4 separate regions of the Homo sapiens genome follow, and regions 2, 3 and 4 are each linked to region 1. Evidence: promoter capture Hi-C in human tissues and cell types (Jung and others, 2019). All regions are on one chromosome and are shown on one strand. Each heading gives the region's core, a stretch centred on a gene start or on the middle of the fragment in contact. The rest is flanking DNA. Distances are from core to core; before and after follow the strand shown.

Region 1 (2,700 bases), core at 44-2,543:
ACTTTTATTTGTCTTATCTGATTTCCTTTCTCAGGAAACCAAGCATCAGGCCTCCCAGATAGTATAAAGAAACTGAAACTTACTGGATTACCACATCTGGAAAAACGAGATGCTATACCCCTTACCCATGATGATTGCCTAACTGACCATCTGCTGCCTGTTGACCCATTCCTCTTCCTTACCCCTTCCTAATTCCTGTTTTCTCAAACATAGTTACACTTCTTCCCTGATGTATAAACCCCTAGTTTTAGTCAGTTGAGGAAAGAGATTTGAGATTGATCTCCCATTTTCCTCAGCTGCAGCACCGAATAAAGCCTTCATCCCTGACAATACTCATTGTCTTGCTGACTGGCCTTCTGTGCAGCAAGCAGCAGGATCTAGATGCAAGGACCTGGCCTTTCTGGTAATATTGTCATCAACCATTTAATGATGTAGACTTGGTCCCCGGCTCATGCTCTGTGTATTTTCTTCTCCATCTACATGCATTGCCTTGATGGTCTCACTCAATATCATGACTTGAAATAACAGTGTAAGGTAACTCCTAAATTCATATATTCATGCTCAAACCTTCTTCCAACATTCAGTCGTAAGTCGAATTGCCTGTGACAGAGATACTTTGTGGTTCTGTAGACATTTCAAACTAACCATCCTGAGCCTCCGAACCTCCTCCACTTGCAGCCTCCCCACCTCAGAAGTGGGCAAATCCACTTTTTGTGTGGTCTGGGCCAAATACATGACTCCCTGCATCACGTAGAGGCTGTGCTGGTCCAAAGAAGGCTCAAAAGAGGGCAGTTTGCGCACACAACGTGTCGGGGCAGGGCTTCCAGATGATCATTCGGCTTTTTTGTGTCTTCCAAGATGATGATCCGGGGAGGAGGGATGTGAAAGGGGGTCAGTCGCCAGGCGAGCTGAGGACCCAGTTCTGCGCCTTTGCCTGTGCCCTGACCTGAAGGAAAGTCCCTGTCTCCCGAGCTCCGATTTTCCCGAGAGAAGAATGCAATGTAACCCTTGCCCCTCGGTTCCCTCCCTCCATCCTTCCCCTCGAGTTGTGCCCACCGTAAAGAGGTGGGTCTGGAGCGTCTCCTCGGGTCCTGGAGTGCCTTTCCCTGGGAGGAAAACTTGCGCCGTGAAGCGTTCCTCCCGTTGTTGAACACATGAGGAAAACTACACTACTTAGAAGGCTGTGCATTATGCGTACGGCGGGAGCTGGGCCAACGACGGCCTAGGACGGGGACGTTTCCGACGGCTCACGCCGGTGGGGGCGGGACTTCCGGGTTGCTCGCTGCGGACGCCATTTTCTTCTGCACTTCTGTCTGGAGAGGTCTGTAGCCACTGAGGGCCCCGGTCGGGGCCGCTTTGCAGGTCCCTAGTCAGGACCGAGCAGGGGAGTAGGATAGGAATCCCCGCCGCACCTTTGTACGAGCCTGACCCCTTCCGTGGGTTTGTTCCTGGGTCGCCGTCAAGCTGCGGTCTCTCCTCCCCCGCCCTTCAGCCCCGCGGTCTCCAGGGGCGGCGCCCTGGGTCTGGAACGCGGTTGCCACCGAGGAGGCGGCGGCCCTGCGTCTGGAACGCCGTTGCCACCGAGGAGGCGGCGGCCCCGAGCGCGCCTGGAAGCCCCGGGCAACCGGCCAGGGTCGGGCACAGGTGGGGTCCGTCAGGCCGCCCGGGGCTCCTCTGTCCCAGCTCTGCGGCCCAGGGGGTGACGTGATGGCGGCAGCGGTGCTGACGGACCGGGCCCAGGTGAGTGGACGGTGGCTTCGCGGTTGCCGCTTCCTTGCCAGCGCTGAGGCGGTTTCCGAAGTGGGTGGGAGCCCAGGTATCCCCTGGATTTGTCTTCGCAGTCGTCGTTCGCTTTGGTGTGTGGAGCTGGTTTGCCACTTAATTTATACCTGGCCGTAAGGAGTGTTGGGCCTACTGGAAGGAGCTCCGTAGGTTGTTGAGTGAATGATGCTTCCTCTGGGGACTCCCATCATCCTTGGCCTGCAAGCATTCTCTGGTGGACCAGGTCTCATTCCAGCATGAATTGGGGGCCTGAGGGGGGAAGGGGAGGGCAGGGCAGTAGCAAGCCGACAAATGCGCGAGCAGAGACAAGGTATGTTGTATGTTTAAGGAGGCTCAGGAGGGTGTGTAAGGTTGCCATGGTTTTCCTGCGGCCGCTGAGACGTGGAGGGCAACAGTGTGTGGTCTTTTCCTGGATGTTCTAGCCATCCGCAACTACTGCAGACATTGTGGCCAGTCAGATGCCCTTACTCTCATCGCTACAGCCTGCATTATCCTTGGCCGCTCGTGTTCCGTGGCCCCAAAGTATCCTGGCGTCAGAGACAAGTTCTGTCGGAACCCAGTAAGGAAAGAGGCCGATGGTTGGTTCATTGTGGAATTTCCTTGGGGGATCTGGGAGACCCAGGGAGATCCCAGAGGGCATGGGAAGCTGGTCTGGAGCCTGTCGTTCCCCAAGTAGATGCAGCCCTTCCAGTGCCGCTCTGTGGGGTCAGTGAGGAATGCTGAGCTTTTTGTGCCCGTGTTCACATACTTTTTTTTGTTTTGAGACAGGGTCTCACTCTGTCGCCCAGGCTGGAGTACAGTGGTGCACTCTCAGCTCACTGCAGTCTCTGCCTCCCAGGTTCAAGCAATTCTCCTGCCCCAGCCTGCCGAGTAGTTGGGATTACAGGCATGCACTACCACACCTGACTGATTTTTGTA
Region 2 (2,716 bases), core at 59-2,558, 1.1 Mb after region 1:
CCTCCCAGGTTCAAGCGATTCTCCTGCCTCAGCCTCCCGAGAAGCTGGGACTACAGGTGCCCGCCACCACGCCGGGCTAATTTTTGTATTTTTAGTAGAGACGGGGTTTCACCATATTGGCCAGGTTGGTCTCGAGCTCCTGACATCGTGATCCACCCGCCTCGACTTCCCAAAGTGCTGGGATTATAGGCGTTAGCCACCGCGCCCGACCTTTAATAAACATTTTAATGGACTACAACAGACCCACAGAAAAAGACACATCACAAAGTGAACACCCACAGGGAGAAGCAATAGGGCTGTCAGAGGCATTCGACCCAGAGCGACTCCATTTTGAGTGAGGGCTAGGAAAATGAGGCTGGGCTGCATTCCCAGAAAAGTAGGTATTCCTAACCTCTAGATGTTTACGGTTAAGGGAACAAATTAATAATGGGTACTAAAACAGACCCAGACTTGGGAGTGTCCAGATATCCCGGTATCTAGAGAACAAAGGCATTCCTAATTTTGCTTTAAAAATAATATCGATTCTTGAAAAATACAGTAAGAAAATTAATCCTTTTTCACAAACCCTTGTAGCAGAGCACATCTCCCCAAAATCTATTTTTAGCCCAAATATACACAAGCATTGTACCTAGGGTGCATACGTTCCTCTTACTTTCAGGAACGTCCTACTGTCTATGGGGTAGCTGTTTCACAACTTTACTTTCTCAACAAACTTGCTTTTACTTTGCACTGCGGACTCGCCCTGAATTTTTTCTTGCGCGAGATCCAAGAACCCTCCCTTGGGGTCTGAATCGGACCCCTTTCCTGTAACACAACCACCGCTCCCAGCCTCCCCGCTTCCAGCCGCTAAGCCCAAAGTCTTTTATATGAACAAACCTCTAACTCGTCCTGTGACTTTGATGCGTGTGCGTTTTAGGCACCGGGGAGCAGAGGGTAAAGCGGCGCAGCTCCGGGCCTCCTCCCGCGCAAGTTCCCGAGAAGAGCAGGTCCGGCCCGCGCAGACGTGCACGGTCCCCAGCCATTAGGAGGAGCAGACGGTCCCCACCCCCACAATCAGTCATCTCTCGGGGTCCGCCCTTGCTTCCTGCCCACGAGTGAGGCCTCTGGTTGCCCGCAACCTAAGGGGCATCGCAGCCCCGAGCAACACCGCCCCCACCAGCCTTAGCTGAGTGCTCCCATTGGCCAGAGGCCAGCGGGTGGGGGCTCCCATTGGCCATCGGCCATAATGCTTCCATTGGTCGAAGGCCAGACCAGCGGAGACTCCCATTGGCCGAGGGCTGTGGTTCGCCGCACGGCCTACTGGGAGTTGTAGTCGCCGCGTCGCCGGTGCGGCCGCCATTGTCCGGCGTTCGGCGAGTCGGGTGGTCCCTTTGGCTGGAGTGCCTCTCTGGTCTGGGGATCACCTCAGGCGCTGTCCTTCACTGGGCGATCCAGCATGGACCCCGAGGACGAAGGGGTAGCGGGAGTGATGTCTGTGGGGCCGCCGGCGGCCCGGCTTCAGGTAACAATAACAACAATAACGACGGCGGCGGGCTCCGGGCAAGCGTCTCCCGCGCAGACTGACCCTTTCACCTCGCGGCGCGATGAGAGCGGCACCGCTGTTAATGCCCTTGACACGTGGGGAAACTCAGACGCGGGTCGGGGCGTGGTGACCGTCCTGGCTGGTCAGAGAGGGGGCCGGGATTCCAACCAGGCGCCTGGCCCCCGAATGCGCATGCTCCACGCGGCTCTGTCCTCCCCAGGGCTGGGGTCGGTCATTCCCGAGAGAATCGAGCAGGCCCATCTCCTGCGTTCTGCTCCGCCCCGCCGACACCCTTGCCCATTCCAGGAAGGTCTGTCCTCGTGTTGACTGATAACAGTAATTGTAGCGTTGGCCGGGTGCCCAGATGGCAAGAATCATCGAATAGAGATGCTTTAACGCGTGGAGTCAGCGGACACCCACCGGGACCCCAGCACCGCGGAGCCCCTGCCCTGGGGCTTGGGCACAACCTCTTGGGGGCAATGATGGGTCACCACGCACTGAGTGTGATGAGAGTGACCACCAGGGTCGTCCCCTGCGAGACTGTGGGAGAACTGCAGTGCAGGGCGGTCAGTGTTTGCAGGGCCATCTGGCCATCAGAGCTCCACTTTCTAGACAAAGTGGTTGCGGCCTGTGTTCTCCATAAAGCTGCCTCGCGTGGCAGGAAACAACAATAATTATCCTTCCTCAAGCTCTGCAACTTTGAAATTATACTTTTTTTTATTTTTTGTCGTTGGTTTGTTCATGGGGATTTGCATTATTTCAGATTTGGTACACAAAGTGAGACTTGATAATCTTAGGTTGCAGGTTTTCAGATGTGTGTTGCTCCAAATTTGCATGAAATGCTACCACGTTTTATTTTGTTCTTGCTGTGGATGGGGGACAAGGAATGAGTCGTAAGAAAGGCTTGAGAGAAAGTGTATTAGTTACCTGTTGCTGTGTAACTCAAAACTTCGTGACCTGGAACAACAATAAATATCTCACGAGTTCTGACAGGAGTAATGGAATGTCCTAGCTGGTGGTTCTGGTTCAGGCCCATGAAGTTACAGTGAAGATGTCAGCATAGCTGTTGTCACCTGAGACCTGAGTCTGGAGGATCCACCTCCAGGATGGCTCACTCACATGTCTGTTGATAGGAGACCTCAGTTGTTCTCCATGTAGGCCTCTCTTTGGAACTGCTAGGGATCCTTGCAACAT
Region 3 (2,803 bases), core at 210-2,709, 1.2 Mb before region 1:
ACTCTAGTGGAAATTTACAAGCAAATTCTAAAGTATATGAAGAAATGTGGCCAAGCGCGGTGGCTCACGCCTGTCATCCCAACACTTTGGGAGGCCCAGGTGGGCGGATCACAAGGTCAGGAGTTCGAGACCAGCCTGACCAATATGGTGAAACCCCGTCTCTACTAAAGATACAAAAAATTAGCCAGGCGTGGTGGCGGGCGCCTGTAATCCCAGCTACTAGGGAGGTTGAGGCAGGAGAATCGCTTGAACTGGGGAGGCGGAGGTTGCAGTGAGCTGAGATCATGCCATTGCACTCCAGCCCAGGTGACAGTGTGAGACTCTGTCTCAAAAAAATAAAAATGAAAAAGAAAAAAAAGAAATGCAAAGAGTTCAGGATAACTAGCACAGTATGGTATTTTCCATACATGTAATTAGAGATTGGAGAAATATACTAGGGAAACAGAATAGAGTCCAGAACAGAAGGGCATAAACATGATCACGTGACTTCTGACAAGCTGACATTACAAAAGACTAGGGAAAGGGTAGTATTGTAACAAATGGTGCTAAATTGATTGTTCCTACATAGAAGAAAAAATCTGAATTCCTACCTCATACCATATACAAAATTAATTCCAAGTATAGTATAAATCTAAATATGAAAGGAAAGACACTACACTTTCTAAAAACTAATCAGAAGACCTTCATGACCTAAGGAGAGACCATAAATTTTAAAATGCATTCACCATAAATTCTTCAAATGGAATTTTCAAACACATTTGGCCAGGCACACTGGCTCATGCCTGTAATCCCAGCACTTTGGGAGGCCGAGGCGGGTGGATCACCTGAGGTCAGGAGTTCGAGATCAGTTTGGCCAACATAGTGAAACCCCATCTCTATTAAAAATCTGAAAATTAGCCGGGCATGGTGGTACACACCTGTAGTCCCAGCTTCTCAGGAGGCTGAGGCAGGAGAATTCTTTGAACCCAGGAGGTGGAGTTTGCACTGAGTACTCCAGCCTGGGTCACAGAGCAAGACTCCACATCAAAAAAAACTAAAAATAAATACATGGGACTTTATCAAAAGTATAAACTTCTGTTTCAAGATTACTAAGAGAGTACATTTCAAGTGTTCTCACCACAAAAAAATAAGTATTCAAGGCAATGGATGTGTTTGTTAGCTTGATTTAATCATTTGACATTGTATACATAGAAGATCACACCGGACCCCAGGAAAATATACAATTATAATTTGTCAATACACAAAAAATTAAAAAATGCCAAGTGCAACTTCCAGATTATGTAAAATAAGGGCACCCAACACACACTCACACTCACACACACACTCTATCATACACAGTCTCTCACACACACACACTCTCTGTCTCACACACATTGTCTCACACCCACTCACACAGTCTCACACACATTCTCTCACACACATACACACTGTCTCTGTCTCACACATTCTCTCTCTCACACACACATGCACTCTCTCTCTCACACACACACTCTCTCACATACACACACACACACACACACACACACACACACACACTAATTGCTTCAGGACAGCCAGCTGAAGGCTGTGAGCATCCGGGCGCCCTCAGCACAGGTGTGTGGTGGTAAAGGCAGCCTCTTGCCAGCAGCAGCACCTGTAAGTGGTGCACACAGGTGCAGAAAAGTGCCTGTTCCCTGGGGCTGGTGGTTCAGAGCCGGTTGCAGCCAATGAGCAGCAGCAACATCACTGGCTCAGCGCTCCCCAGGAACTATCGCCACGTGGGCGTGGAGCTGGGCGTGGCCTTCTTTTTTCCGTGATTGCCAGCTGGCCCAGAGCTGGACCTGCTCTTGGTGGTGAGGTGTGAAGCTGGTGAGTATTCCTCCTGTCTTGCTCTCTGCCCTTCCCGCTTTTGTTCTCCACTGCTGATTAGAACCCGCGTATTGAGCTTACTAGGTGCCCCCACCCTCTCCCTTCTGGCTGCTCAAAGCCCAGGACCAAAGGATTCCTTGAAAGAACAAAGTCCAGTTACCCCATTTTGCTGAAAAGATCTTCCTCTAAAACCTCATATTTACTTGGGGTATTTAGGTAAGTCTCTCGTCCTTTTCAGACATTCGGTCTAAAATACTGTACAGAGGGCTGGGTGCAGTGGCTCACGCCTATAATCCCAGCACTTTGGGAGGCCGAGGCAGGTGGATCATCTGAGGTCAGGAGTTCAAGACCAGCCTGGCCAACATGGTGAAATCCTCATCTCTAATAAAAGTACAAAAATGAGCTGGGCGTGGTGGCATGTGCCTATAATCCCACCTTCTAGGGAGGCTGAGACGGGAGAATCGCTTTAACCCAGGAGGCAGAGGTTGCAGTGAGCCAAGGTCACGCCACTGCACTCCAGCGTGGGTGACAGAGTGAGACTTCGTCTCAAGTAAAAATTAAGTACAGAGTAGGGGGTACTGCAACTTGAATGTCAGGATTAGCTAATGTCTGGTCTGCATTTGGTAGGAGTCCAGAGGGTGTTTTGGTGCTAATTGTGCAAATACTATGGTTAACCGTAACTTAGTTATTGAAATGCCATACAATTCTGACGGTGTTGTTTGTCCTGTTTACCAAGGGAGGAAGCTGAGCCCCAGATAAGTTAAATGGCTTGCCTGGGGTAGAAAGCAGCAAATCATTCAAAGCTGGGTCTGAGACTTCAAGCCCTATAATCTTAACTGCTGCTTTCTAATCATTCAGGACACCTGGGTAGAAAGGTGAGGTGGGAGGGGTACGGTCTGTAGAAAAAGCATAGAGACAAAATGCAAGCTTAGGGAAGTCACTCATCCTCAGAAAA
Region 4 (2,770 bases), core at 225-2,724, 1.0 Mb after region 1:
CCAAAATACTGGCAAAATACAAAGGATAATACCCAATGCTGGAAAGAATAGGGACTATTATTCTCACTTTGGAAAGTAATTTGGTAATACCTAAGAGAATCAAAAATACACTTATCCTTCAACTTGTGCAGTCCCACTGGAGGGGCTCTGACCTATAGAAATGAAGGCACTAATTCTGGGTGTCCGGGGGTGTTTACTACAGTATTGTTTATGTTGTGTTTGGAAATAGAGAAGAGTGTGGGAGGTGAATGCTAGGATTTTACACTGAAAGAGGTGCAGATGAGGGGGAAGAAGTAGGCTGGAGCAAATTGAAAGTGATGTCTGCTATAATTAGTTAAGAGAAAATATGAATGTAAGGTTCAATGTATGAAGTTTTTTTTTTTCTTTTTCTTTTTTTTTTTTTTTTTTTAGACAGTCTTGCCCTGTTGCCCAGGCTGGAATGCAATGGCATGACCTTGGCTCACTGCAACCTCTGCCTCCCAGATTCAATCAATTCTCCTGCCTCAGCCTCCCGAGTAGCTGAGCCTCCCGCCACCATGCCTGGCTAATTGTTGTATTTTTAGTAGAGACAGGGTTTCACCGCGTTGGTCAGGCTGGTCTTGAACTCCTGACCTTGTGGTCTGCCCACTTCAGCCTCTCAAAGTGCTGGAATTACAGGCGTGAGCTACTGAGCCCAGCCACAAGGTATGAAGTTTTTCTAGACATGTAAAAGTGAGCATGCACTTGGGCAAAAACGAGAGTCATCCAAAAATGAAAACATAAGATTTAATTTCAGGATGGGAGTCTATGTCATCTTCTATTTGAATTTTCTGTTATTTCCTGAGTTCCAACTTTTTTCCACTCCAGATAATTCATACTATAATATTTCCATAAACCTGGCTCACAGAATAAAAGTTTGAAAAATAAGTTTATTTCAATAATCATTAGAAAAATTATAGTCGGGCACGGTGGCTCATGCCGGTAATCCCAGCACTTTGGGAGGCCGAGGCTGGCAGATCACGAGGTCAGGGATTCGAGACCAGCTGATCAACATAGTGAAACCCCGACTCTACTAAAAGTACAAAAATTAGCAGGGCGTGGTGGTGCGCGCCCATAATCCCAGCTACTCAGGAGGCTGAGGAAGGAGAATTGCTTGAACCTGGGAGGCAGAGGTTGCAGTGAGCCAAGATCGCACCACTGCACTCCAGCCTGGGCGACAGAACGAGACTCTGTCTCAAAAAAAAAAATTATGGAAGTGAAAAATTGTGCAAAAATGAGTGTGTACCAACTTTCTGTCAGAGCTTCACCTTAATCATCTAATAAGAAAGCAAACAAAAGATAAACTGTATAAGCATGCCAACAATAATCTTTATTTCTGCCATGTTTTACCCTTTAATATTCAGAAGAAAAGTCATACAGGAGGAAAATTTTATAACTATAGTAAATATAGACAACTTGAACAACACTAGATCTCTACTGGCCAAAAGGAAAAAACAAAAAACAACCCCCAGTATATCCCTAAATGTACACCAGAGAATCTTAAAAGATAAAATAATTTGGCCAGGCACGGTGGCTCCCGCCTGTAATCTCAGCACTTTGGGAGGCCGAGGTGGGCGGATCACGAGGTCAGGAGATCGAGACCATCCTGGCTAACACGGTGAAATTCCATCTGTACTAAAAATACAAAAACAAAATTAGCCAGGCATAGTGGCGGGGGTCTGTAATCCCAGCTACTCCAGAGGCTGAAGCAGGAGAGTGGCATGAACCCAGGAGGCGGAACTTGCAGTGAGCAGAGATCGCACCACTGCACTACAGCCTGGGCAACAAAGCAAGACTCAAAAAAAAAAATAAAATAATTCATGTGATTATAATAAATTTGAGAAAAACTTCTTTTATAGCTCTTGCCTTTCTCAAAGGGGGAGGACTCATCCTGGAGAGAAACCCCATGGATGTATTCAACATGGTAAATCTTTTTGATGGAGCTCTCACCTAGTTGCACATCACAACTTATACCAGATAGAAAATTTATGAATGTAATCAATGTGGAAAGTTTTTCAGCCTGGTGCTCCCACCTTGTTAGACGTATACTGAAGACTCTGGGAACATCGGGAACGTCAGAGAGCTTTCAGCAGGAGATCTCATCTAATTGGGCAATAGAAAACTCATACTGAAGAAAAACAATTCCATGTAATCAATGTGAGAAATATTTCAGTGACATCCTTGATTTTAATTGGCATCAGGGAAAGTGTAATAGAGAGAAGCCTTATGAATGTAGTCAAGGTAGGAAATCTTTCTATACAGCTCTGGCCTTGTTGCACATAAAATAACTCATACTGGAAAGAAGCTTCGTGACTGTAATCAGTGTTGGAAATGGTTCAGTTAGAGTTCTCACTTGTTGCTCATCAGATAAATCATACCGGTGAGAAACTGCGAGTGTCCTGAGTGTAGGAAATCAGCTGGAGCTGATTACTTATATGGCATCAGAGATTTCACATTAGAGAGAAACCTCATGAATGTCACTGGTGTGGAAAATCCCGCAGCAAGAATTCTCACCTTATTGAACAGCAAATAACTCATTCTGGAGAGAAGCCTATAAATGTAGTCAACGTGGAAAAACTTTCAGACAGAATTATTATTGTGTATGCACCAAAAAATTCATATGGGCAAAAGCCAACATGAATGTCTAAATGTGAAAAAGCCTTCAGGAGACTATCTGACCTTATGGAACACCAGATCATTCATAATAGAGAGAAACTGTATGCATATAATCAGTGCAGAAAGGCCTTTCAGG

Evidence for each region. Contacts are between HindIII fragments. The study calls those that stand out against the background at their distance.
Region 2: the fragment with the promoter of ZNF8 here is called in contact with the fragment with the promoter of ZNF264 in region 1 in 1 of the 25 tissues and cell types used here (spleen).
Region 3: a fragment that was not itself captured here is called in contact with the fragment with the promoter of ZNF264 in region 1 in 1 of the 25 tissues and cell types used here (thymus).
Region 4: a fragment that was not itself captured here is called in contact with the fragment with the promoter of ZNF264 in region 1 in 1 of the 25 tissues and cell types used here (pancreas).

What each region holds. Positions count from the first base shown.
Region 1 is chr19:57,190,207-57,192,906 of GRCh38, forward strand. ZNF264 (zinc finger protein 264) reads left to right here and starts at 1,294. Exons shown (of 4, transcript NM_003417.5): 1 at 1,294-1,740. The coding sequence starts at 1,708. RefSeq lists enhancers at 1,130-1,189, 1,210-1,299, 1,310-1,369 and a silencer at 1,540-1,809. The HindIII fragment of the contact is 13,408 bases long and covers 1-2,700 here.
Region 2 is chr19:58,277,647-58,280,362 of GRCh38, forward strand. ZNF8 (zinc finger protein 8) reads left to right here and starts at 1,309. Exons shown (of 4, transcript NM_021089.3): 1 at 1,309-1,501. The coding sequence starts at 1,436. ZNF8-DT (ZNF8 divergent transcript) reads right to left here and starts at 1,096. Exons shown (of 3, transcript NR_187495.1): 1 at 877-1,096. ZNF8-ERVK3-1 (ZNF8-ERVK3-1 readthrough (NMD candidate)) reads left to right here and starts at 1,320. Exons shown (of 7, transcript NR_144447.1): 1 at 1,320-2,716. RefSeq lists enhancers at 1,385-1,434, 1,855-1,904. The HindIII fragment of the contact is 27,521 bases long and covers 1-2,716 here.
Region 3 is chr19:55,984,974-55,987,776 of GRCh38, forward strand. NLRP5 (NLR family pyrin domain containing 5) reads left to right here and starts at 1,802. Exons shown (of 15, transcript NM_001433705.1): 1 at 1,802-1,848. It also overlaps a transcript of NLRP8 not described here. The HindIII fragment of the contact is 8,677 bases long and covers 1-2,803 here.
Region 4 is chr19:58,222,649-58,225,418 of GRCh38, forward strand. It overlaps the pseudogene LOC100419847. Among named protein-coding and RNA genes, the nearest start is that of ZNF544, 4.9 kb to the right of the region's middle. The HindIII fragment of the contact is 6,243 bases long and covers 1-2,770 here.